3 separate regions of the Homo sapiens genome follow, and all the other regions are linked to region 3. Evidence: promoter capture Hi-C in human tissues and cell types (Jung and others, 2019). All regions are on one chromosome and are shown on one strand. Each heading gives the region's core, a stretch centred on a gene start or on the middle of the fragment in contact. The rest is flanking DNA. Distances are from core to core; before and after follow the strand shown.

Region 1 (3,125 bases), core at 487-2,986, 42 kb after region 3:
CGATGCTCAGTATAAACTGTCATAAAGGAAAAGAAAAATACAAAGCAAATGGTAACAGAGATCCACTTTGGGAGGTGGGATGATAAAGATACCCACAGCAAGGGGCTGTTGAAAGTTGATTTCTTAAGACTCAAAGACCTCTACTCTGTTAATAGCTGCTAATGTAGACCTCAGGGACAGTGGGGCAAAATGGGCATTATGCAACTTCTCCAAATACTTTGTGTGTATGTGTGAGTACTAAATAAGCTAACACATATAAAGCGCTTAGCATGGGGGCAGGTAGCTAAAAGGTACCAGTTAATGGTGGCTATGATTATTGTAACTTGTAAATGTGGTCTGCACTCTCCTTTCTTCCCTCATCACTTTGACCATTTCATTTCTGCTTCCTGTGTTGCTGCGCAGACTTTCAAGTTTTCCCCTATTATTTTCCTATATCAAATACCTTACCTTCATCTTTGTATGTAGTTTTTGTTCCAGAGGTAGCATTATACTTGCAGGCCAGTGGGCTCTAACTGGTTAACCTGGAGCAGAAAGTATACAGTGTCAATATTTAGAGTGGCACTATTTGACTGACAGTGGTTTTCCCTTCTCAGAGTAATTACTCTTTGTTTGGATTCTCGGTTTTCATAAAAGAAACTTGGCTTGCTAGCTATTACATATACCAAATGAAGCCTAAGCTTGTGTAAATGTTGAATAATGAATTAAAATAAAATTGCTGCTAGTGACAGGCCTTCCATGACTCAGTGTGGTTTTGGAGGCAAAAAGTCCCCTATGTCAGCTTCCATGAAGGAGAACATTAGAGTGGCCACATAGTACAACCTCATCGCAGTTCCATTTGGCTGAATGATACAGACAGCTTTAGAGATAAGCAGGGGCTTTTGAGTCCTCCCTTCCTGAAAACACAAGCGGTCCAAATGTTGACTTGGGTACCAGTAACTTTCATGAAGACATAGGCCTTGGAGTTATACTCCACCCTGTGAAGCTTAACTGCTGAATGTTGAAAGCACATTTGAAAATGATTACATCTTTCAGGACACAATCAAAGACTCTTTAGTATTTAGCAAAGAAGCAATCAAACATACATTTGTGGAGGGATTGGTGAAAGCCACTTTGGCCAATATCCATCAGGAGACATTTTAAGACCCAATATCCTTAAATTTAGTTCTATTCTGTAAGACCCACCGAATCTCCATTGCAGATCACTGAGGAAGAAAAAGTAAGTGCCACATGATGTTAATCTAAGTGAATGTGATTTTAGTCCTCAGGCAAGTAAAGAGAAAGGTAGGAGATGAACCTTTAGAAGAAAAGTCATATGGAGAGGTGGGGCAATTTATTTTGGGCATGGTAGAGTATGTACTTATTCTAGTTGAAATTAAGAGAGAGTTTGATGCTAATATGTAGACAAATATTCCTTGATTGGATTAATTAGTTTTTTTTAAAGAACCAAGATCTTTGCTGAAAAGATTAACATGTTTCTTTTTGACCCCAGACCTACCCCTGTTTCCAAAGCCTCAAGGTCCTTCAACCTCTGCCAAAGCCGTTTTCTACCATCAACCAAAGCAGCCGAATCAGGATCTGAGCTAATTCAGCTCAGTTCAACTTGGCAAATATTTACTGTGCATATTTTACTCTGCTAGAAACAGGGGAGACACAGGTGAAGATGTAGTCCTTACTCCCAAGTAGCTCACAGTCCAATAGGAAAAAGACCTGTCATCAACAATGAGCTTATCTCTGTGAAGTTACTGAAAAGTTAGAAGCAGCCCCAGGTTACCACAGTGACATAAACAAGGGTCTGTGAGGCAGTGCCTGCCCTGGAATTTCTGGTTAAAAGAGGTTCAGGGACAGCAATCTAATTGTATGTGCTGGGAATGGGGCAGGATGGGTGGGTAGCAGGTAGGGTTGCCAGACTTAGCAAATAAAACTAGAGAACACCAAGGTAAATTTGCAGTTCAGATAAACAACAGATAGATTTTTAGCATAAGTATATCCCATGCAATAGTCTAAGTTGTTTTTTTTTTTTTTTTCTGAAACTCAAATTTAACTGGGAATCTTGTATTTTATATGGTGGGCCTAGGAGTTGCCTTGCAGTTTTAATTGCTTAGCATATTTACTGAAGACTGAGACAGTGTCGAGGTTAGAAAAGGCTTCCTGGAGGGAAGAACCCAGGGGCTGGGTTTTGAAGACTGAAAATGAGAACCTAGGCCCTTTGAATCAAAGTGTGATCTACAGACAAGCAACACCAGCATCACCTGAGAGCTTGCTGGAAACGCAGACTCTCAGGCACCACCCCAGACCTACAGACCCAGAATCCGCATTTTAACAAGATGTCCAGATGATTCATATGCACATTAGTGTTTGAGATGCCCTGGTCTAGGTGAAAAAGAACAAGGAGCAAATAAAAGAAATGGCATGCCCATATGTACACATACCCAAAACAGCACAGTCGTCTCGTGAAAAATCAATCACTTATTTTATCCTCTATCACACACAGCACAGCCAGCAATATCTTGCACTTTGTTATTATTATTTCTTGCATAGATATTCTTCTTCTTTCCATTATAGGAAGCAAGAAGGCCAATATTACTCTTATTTAGCAAGAGTTATATCCTGGTGAATGGTCAGAAATTTAAAGACATAAATAAAACTTAGTTACAACCTACTAGGTTATTTTCATTCATGTTCAATTAAGGGTTTAGTGTACAGTGGGCTACACTTTCCATGTATGTAATTCTGATATGCATTAGTGATTCCTCCACATTTTTATGGTTCCTCATGTGCATAATTCTACCATGCATTAATGCTTCCTCTACATTCTACAAATGGGGAAATGAATGCCTTGAGGGTTGAGTGACTTGTAAGTTTCAAACGCAGAATTCTAACCCGCAAATGTCTGACCCAAACTCTACATTTTTTGCCCATTGCTTTTAAGAGGTGACCGTGAACAAAGTGAGAAATGTTTAACATTCTAAAAATCTTTTAGAAAATTCAGGTTAAACAAACATTGCTACAGACTTCTAGACATTTTAGGCAGCATTTTTTTGTTTTGTTTTGGTTTTATGGGGGGGGGGGGCAGCATTAACTTGCTAATTGCCTCAATTGTACATTCTTGCATGTATATAAAATCG
Region 2 (3,099 bases), core at 451-2,950, 38 kb before region 3:
GAGTTGCCAGGTAAGAAACAGCAACCCACGAGCCTAAAAGCCATGTCTTCTTCATCTTTGACCCCTTAGTGTTTAACACAGTCCTTAAATGTCCCTTGAATAAACGCATTTTTACATTCATGATAGACATTATAAAAGATTTAAAAATGAACATGAGATGATCTTTGCCTTCTTAAGGTTAATGGTAAAATAATGGAGAACGACAAAGGAGAAAGACATAAATAACATCCAGTGCCTGTATCCACGCACTCTATTTGCTGGCTCCCACTCGGCAGCTATGGGCTCTTGTTTTTGAGAGGATCTTCTCCAGCCTGTCTATCTGGTTTCCCACCTCCTAGCTGCTCTGCAGTAGATGATTCAAAGGATGGCTGGAGAAGGAGCCCTGTGGGGCCAGCACAATGTCAATATCCCAGCAAGAAGGAGGGCTGCAGCCTCCACAGGGCCCCAGGTGCTGAAGACAGAACAGATATCTGGCCAGGTGTGGTGGCTCACACCTGTAATCCCAAAATTTTGGGAGGCCGAGGTAGGCAGATCACGAGGTCAGGAGATCAAGACCATCCTGGCTAACACGGTGAAACCCCATCTCTACTAAAAATACAAAAAATTAGCCAGGAATGGTGGCGGGCACCTGTTGTCCCAGCTGCTCAGGAGGCTGAGGCAGGAGAATGGCATGAACCCAGGAGGCGGAGCTTGCAGTGAGCCGAGATTGCACCACCGCACTCCAGCCTGGGTGACAGAGCGAGACTCTGTCTCAAAAAAAAAAAAAAAAAAAAAAAAAACCACAGATATCCATCATTATTCCAGCATTATTTATCATGGAAAAAAAACAATACCAAACTGCAAACAACCTACATGTTTGTCAATAGGGATGAATAAATTAATACATGTCTACACCAGGTGAAATTTTGCAATTTTTAATAAAAAGAATAAATGAGATTTATATCTATTGGCCTGAAGTGAAGCTCATTATATCTTTTAAAGTTTATCTGTTCCTCAAACTCCAAAAGCCTGGTGAGGCTAATTCTCATGCTTATCAATAAAAATTACTTTTCTCCGTCAATTAGTATTTGGTCCAGAAAAAAAAAAAATCAGTGTGTCTTGCTGTAAGAACATCAGTGTGCTCAGAGCTAAAATTAGGAAACACACACAAAAATAAAACCTGACTTTACAAGGGGCATTTTCCTATTAACAAAAGGGACACCAATAAGTTCTATAAAATTGATTGTTTTACACGGTGCATGGAAAGCATGATGTTGCATAGAAACTAAAGTGATATATGTCCTGCATAAAGTGAGGCCTACCTTTAAATATCAGAAGATGCTTTCCTAAAAAATAAAATCATGAGATAGATTACATAAAGAGTTCAAAGGACGCTGGGCATGGTGGGTGGCTCAGGCCAATAACTCCAGCACTTTGGGAGGGCAAGGTGGGCAAATCGCTTGAGCCCAGGAGTTTGAGACCAGCCTGGGCAACATTGCGAAACCCCATCTCTACAAAAAATACAATGGGAGTCTAAGGGAGGCTATGGGAGGCTAAGGGAGGCTCAGGTAAGGAGGATCTCTTGAGCCTGGGAGGCAGAAGCTGCAGTGAGCCAAAATGGCACCACTGCACTCCAGCCTGAGTAACAGAGTAAGACTCTGTCTCAAAAAAAGAAAAGAAAAGAAAAAAAGAATTCAAAGGAGAACTGACATATCACCCAGTGGGTATATTACAGAATGCTTGCATGTATGTGTGTGTGTGTATGGTTTTATATATATTTATATAAAGTATAAATGCTTTTGCTTATATATATGAATCTCATTTTCCCACTGGCTTTCCTTAAAAACTAAACAAAACACAAACACCTTACTGATCGTTAGTAGCTCGTAAGCTGATTTTTAGCCTTTCAGCTGAGAGGAAATGGTCCAAAAAAAAAAATACTAAATGCATCAGGGAGATTTTTCATACATTCACATTTCCATGTGGGAAGCAGCATTATATAGTGGAAACAACATAGTCTTTAAAACAGAAGAGATTTGTATTGAAAGGCTGGCTCCACCGTTACGGATTTGGGCAAAGCTCTGAACCTCTGTTTCCTCATCTAAAGATAGGAATAGCTGCACTTTCCTTGCACCATCATCATGCGGAATGGAAACACTACACATGAAGCCTCTGGTACAACTCTTGGCAGAGTACACACTCAGGAATTGTCATCTGTATTATTATTTCACAAGCTGACATTTTTTAAAGGAAAGCACACCTAGGCTGCCATCTCCTTGTAGCAAAAAAAAAAAAAAAAGAAAGAAATCAGTTCTGATCAAGGGCACATCTAATAGTTGAGAGTGAAATGTGAAATGGGAAGATGACACCACCACACAACCAGCCCCTTCCTCATTCATTTAGATGTGTCCCAGGACACCACAAGGCTGGCTATTGTACTTCTTAGGCTGTGTCAAAACCATTTTAGTCAAGCCCAGTGCTTTGCAGATAAACACATTGCCAACCTTTAAAATATTCATCTTCCCCTCTATCGTTCCTTCCAATGGAATTGAGACACTGACTGCTTATTGGTTCTCCCTTCCCAAACAATAAGAACAGTAAAGTGGTACTCATGCAGACGCAGCACACATAGTAATCCAAGGACAACTCTGTCCATCAAGGAAGCTTCAGCAAGACCCAAGGTACCAATGGGCTCATTTATGATTCTGTGTCCTCACATTCTGTAGTCTCGCATCTGTTCTGAAAATCTGATGGTTTATAAAATAACAGGAATATTTAAAAATTAGGTCTGTAGAGTGGGATAGGTCTGAATGTCAAATACTATTGCCATTCAAGCTTCGCTTCTCTAAGAAAAGCCTGCCTAGAATGAAGATACAACTGCTGTCCAGGCTTAATCTAAACCTTGCTTAATGGTGCACAAGGTACTTGGGTTGACAGAGCTACGTGTAGATTTTAGGCGGTAGCTCTCCATAGAGCATGTTGCATGCAAACAGAGGTCGTGTCAGCACATGTCACCCTTAACCAACACGGTGCTATTTAAGTAAGTGCCAACCTGCAGTTTCAGCAATTGTGATTTATTGAGAAGGGTGGTGTGAATAATGCGGAGGACTTGACCATTGG
Region 3 (3,251 bases), core at 366-2,865:
CCAGCCCTCCCCAACCGCCGCCAGAAGCCGAGTGCAAGAGGAGGGGGCGCGCTGGGCCGGTACCCAAGCCGGGGCTGGAGAAATCCTCTCCGTCCCCAGCTCCAGGCGGCTCGCGCGAGCACGCTTCCTCCGGAGTGACAGGCGCGATTTATACATTATTTACAACAGTAATTAAAGCTGTAGCTTCCTCCTGTTCTTTGCAAACTCCAGGCGCATTCAAATAAATAATCCCCCACTCTCGAGAAAAACACACATCAGGTTCCAATACCTTCAAGAAAGAGTGAGCTTTCCTCAACAGCTCACTTTAGGAAAGGAGGGAGCAACTGAGTCCCCCCCATCCCCCCCAACACACGCAGACACAGACCAAACACCAAAATGAAGAGTAAAAATCGCCAGGGGAGGAGAAAACATTGCTTGCACTATCCAACCAGCATACAACTTGCACTGACCATCCCCAGGTTCCTGCAGAAATGCTTGGAACCTCCGAGAGGGAAGGATTCCCAGAGCAGAAATAAGTTTCGGTGCTTGCTTTTGTAGACGCTCCCTCCGGATGCGCGTGGAGCGCCCCACAGGACCGCCGCCCTCTGCGCGTTGGCGCGCACACGCCCCCCGCCAGCCTGGGCGCCGGGCTCCGAACCCCCGGTCTGCAAACTTGCGCATCTCCCCTCGCCGCGCCCGCCAGACAACTTGGCGAACAGCTCGCCCGCCCGCACCCCGCTTCCTTCGGCCCTTCCTTCAAATCCCAAACGCACCGCCGTGCTCCAAAGAAGGTGTCCACGTCGCCCCCAGACCCCGGAGCGCCCCCTCTCCACCCCCGGGACTTCCCAGGTCGCTCACTCCTCCCGCCCCCCGCCCAGATCTGAGAGGGACCGAAAACACACCCCCGACTCGGGCAGCCAGGGCCGAAACTGTCAAGAGGAGAAAAGGTAAAGCGGAAGGAGGGTGGCCATAAACAGATTTTTTTGCCCCTTCTTAAAAGGACACTGCCGCTTTAAAAGTTTCTTTCCCGGGCCCCCACTCCCCGCATCTCCGTATTTTGGGGGAGCGTATTTAATTGAGGCAACGCAGCTTTCCTCCAGTGTTTGCAGAAAAATCAAAGCCAGGGGGGTGAGCCCGCCGGCTGTCAACCTTCCCGCCGCCTCCCCCGCCCCACTCTGCTCCCGCAAGCCGAGAACGGGCTGCAAAAGTTTGCAACATTTCTGGGGGGCGGAGGGGGGAGGGGAGGGGGGTCCTCCGGGCTCGGGGCGCCGCCGCAGGCTCGCGCGCGGCCGCCGGACCCCGCGCCCCGGGCGCCCGCTCCCGGCCGCCCCCCGCTCCGCGCCCGGGCTCCCGCCGCCCCCTCCCCAGCCCCTCTCCAGCCTCCTACCTCTGCTGGTGCTGGAATAGCTCTGTCTGCGCACCGGGGCAGGCGGCTCGCTCTTGCGGGCGGATTCCTGGTTCAGCGGGGTCTCCCTGGAGCCGGCGGCCGCGTCCGCGCCGCTGCTGCCTGGCTCGCTGGCGGCGGGGTCGGGGGCTGCCGGAGCTGACTCCATGTTTTTTCCCAATGTAGAGATCGCTGGAGATGGCGAGCTCCGAGACTCCCTCTATCTTCTGTTTTCAGAGCAACTCTATGGTACCAAAAAAAAAAAAAAAAAAAAAAAAAAAAAAAAAAAAAAAAAAAGAAGGAGAAGGCGACCGGCGAAAGCAGGAGGGAAAAAGCAGGCGGCGGCGGGCGGGCAAGCAAAAGCGCGAGGGAGCGCGCGGAGTGTCTGGGTGGACGTGTGTGTGCGCCCGAAAGGGGACAAGAGGCGGGTCTGGCCACAGGCAGCGCTAGCGAGAGCTTCTCCAGCCGGCCCCCACACCCACATTCCCCACCCTCCAGACCCCAGACCGAGAGCCACAGACTGGCTGCCAATTTTGGGAGGTGGGGAAAAGAGGGGAGGAGGAGAACAGAGCCTCCCGCGCCCCAATCCTCCCCTCTCCCCAGCCCAGGGACAGAAATTAAAATCGGTGAGATGATTCCGTGCCTACTTCTGAGACTCTCTCGGGAACAGAACTCGTCCCCATCCGCTGCCAGCTTGGGTAGAGACAAATCCGATTGTCCACGTCCACGTTGGGAAATCGCAGGTAGCCCCCTGCCAGCCCTGCCGAGGGCTGAGGAGAAACTAAAAAGGAATTAGAACGGGGCTGACATCCCAAGGAAGGCGGAGGATGGGAGGACGTGGCACTTTTTACTTTGGGATGGGACGGCCAGTGGGTTTCCAATCTTGGTTAAAGACATCTGTGTCTAAAACAGATTTTGTGAATCTAGAAGCGCCATGGACAGTTTCTGGCATGGTTGAAAGAGGTCGCTTTCAGCTCCTTTGCTGTTTGTCCGCGAAGGATCCAGAAACCATTTGGCAGGGCATTTTCTACTGAAGAAAACTTTGGCCTGTTTGGTCGACAACTATCTAAGCTGGATAAAACATGCCACGCTGCATCTAGCTCAAGCGTGGCTGCTAATTGTCAATTCCCACTGGTACTTTTCCTATTAAATGTACAGTCTCATCCATAAAAGGTAGATATACTGGAGAGGCATTACTAATGCCCGGATAACATTCAGATAATTAACAGCTCCTAATAATTCGTATTATTATAGGCATCATTCTACACCCTCCTCCCATTGAAATACATTCATCCCCTAGTAGGTACCTAAAACTCCAGGAAAGCAGATAATTGCATCATCGTTACCTTGACTGCAAACTCCAAGATGAAGGAACAATACAAATTGAAAGAATGGAAAATACTCCAATGGTAGTAGCCTGATTTGTCTGCCTTCATACTCAATCTACCACTTTCTTTTGCCTGCGAAGACACTGTGGAAATACGCCCCACCTTCCTTTCAAAAGGATCCAAAATTTTGACAATAAATAATATTATTAGAGGCCAGAAGGTGGCATAAATATATGTGCTTCAGAACGTGGGGTAGGCGGAGGGAATTGGGGGACATTTTTCTTTTGCTAACTTCCTGGTTTGGAAAAATGCTTTAAAAAATAGTAAGTGCGGGAAACCCAGTTAGCTAATCCTTCAGAGGAACCGCCATATGCCAAATTTCACACATAGTTTCTGTTACTGTTACTGATCTTGATCTTATTTCAAATACACAATGCCCTTTGCCATAGTCTGTGTACTAATCAGCAAAACCTGTGGTCCACTCTTCGGGGTGATGTAAATGAGATGTGAACAGTCCTGATACCTTAATCCTGTCTCTGCAAGGATCCCTGGCTTTAGCC

The links. The method cuts DNA at HindIII sites, captures the fragments that hold promoters and counts their contacts. A contact is called where the count stands out against the background at its distance.
Region 1: a contact is called between a fragment that was not itself captured here and the fragment with the promoter of RORA in region 3, in 1 of the 25 tissues and cell types used here (liver).
Region 2: a contact is called between a fragment that was not itself captured here and the fragment with the promoter of RORA in region 3, in 1 of the 25 tissues and cell types used here (stomach).

What each region holds. Positions count from the first base shown.
Region 1 is chr15:61,269,718-61,272,842 of GRCh38, forward strand. No RefSeq gene overlaps it. Among named protein-coding and RNA genes, the nearest start is that of RORA, 42 kb to the left of the region's middle. The HindIII fragment of the contact is 7,673 bases long and covers 1-3,125 here.
Region 2 is chr15:61,189,104-61,192,202 of GRCh38, forward strand. All of the region lies in intron 1 of RORA (RAR related orphan receptor A), which reads right to left. It overlaps LOC105370841 (a long non-coding RNA gene), which reads right to left. Exons shown (of 2, transcript XR_007064661.1): 2 at 1-3,099. Among named protein-coding and RNA genes, the nearest start is that of RORA, 39 kb to the right of the region's middle. The HindIII fragment of the contact is 3,527 bases long and covers 1-3,099 here.
Region 3 is chr15:61,227,687-61,230,937 of GRCh38, forward strand. It overlaps RORA (RAR related orphan receptor A), which reads right to left and starts at 1,616. Exons shown (of 11, transcript NM_134261.3): 1 at 1,367-1,616. The coding sequence starts at 1,532. The HindIII fragment of the contact is 14,135 bases long and covers 1-3,251 here.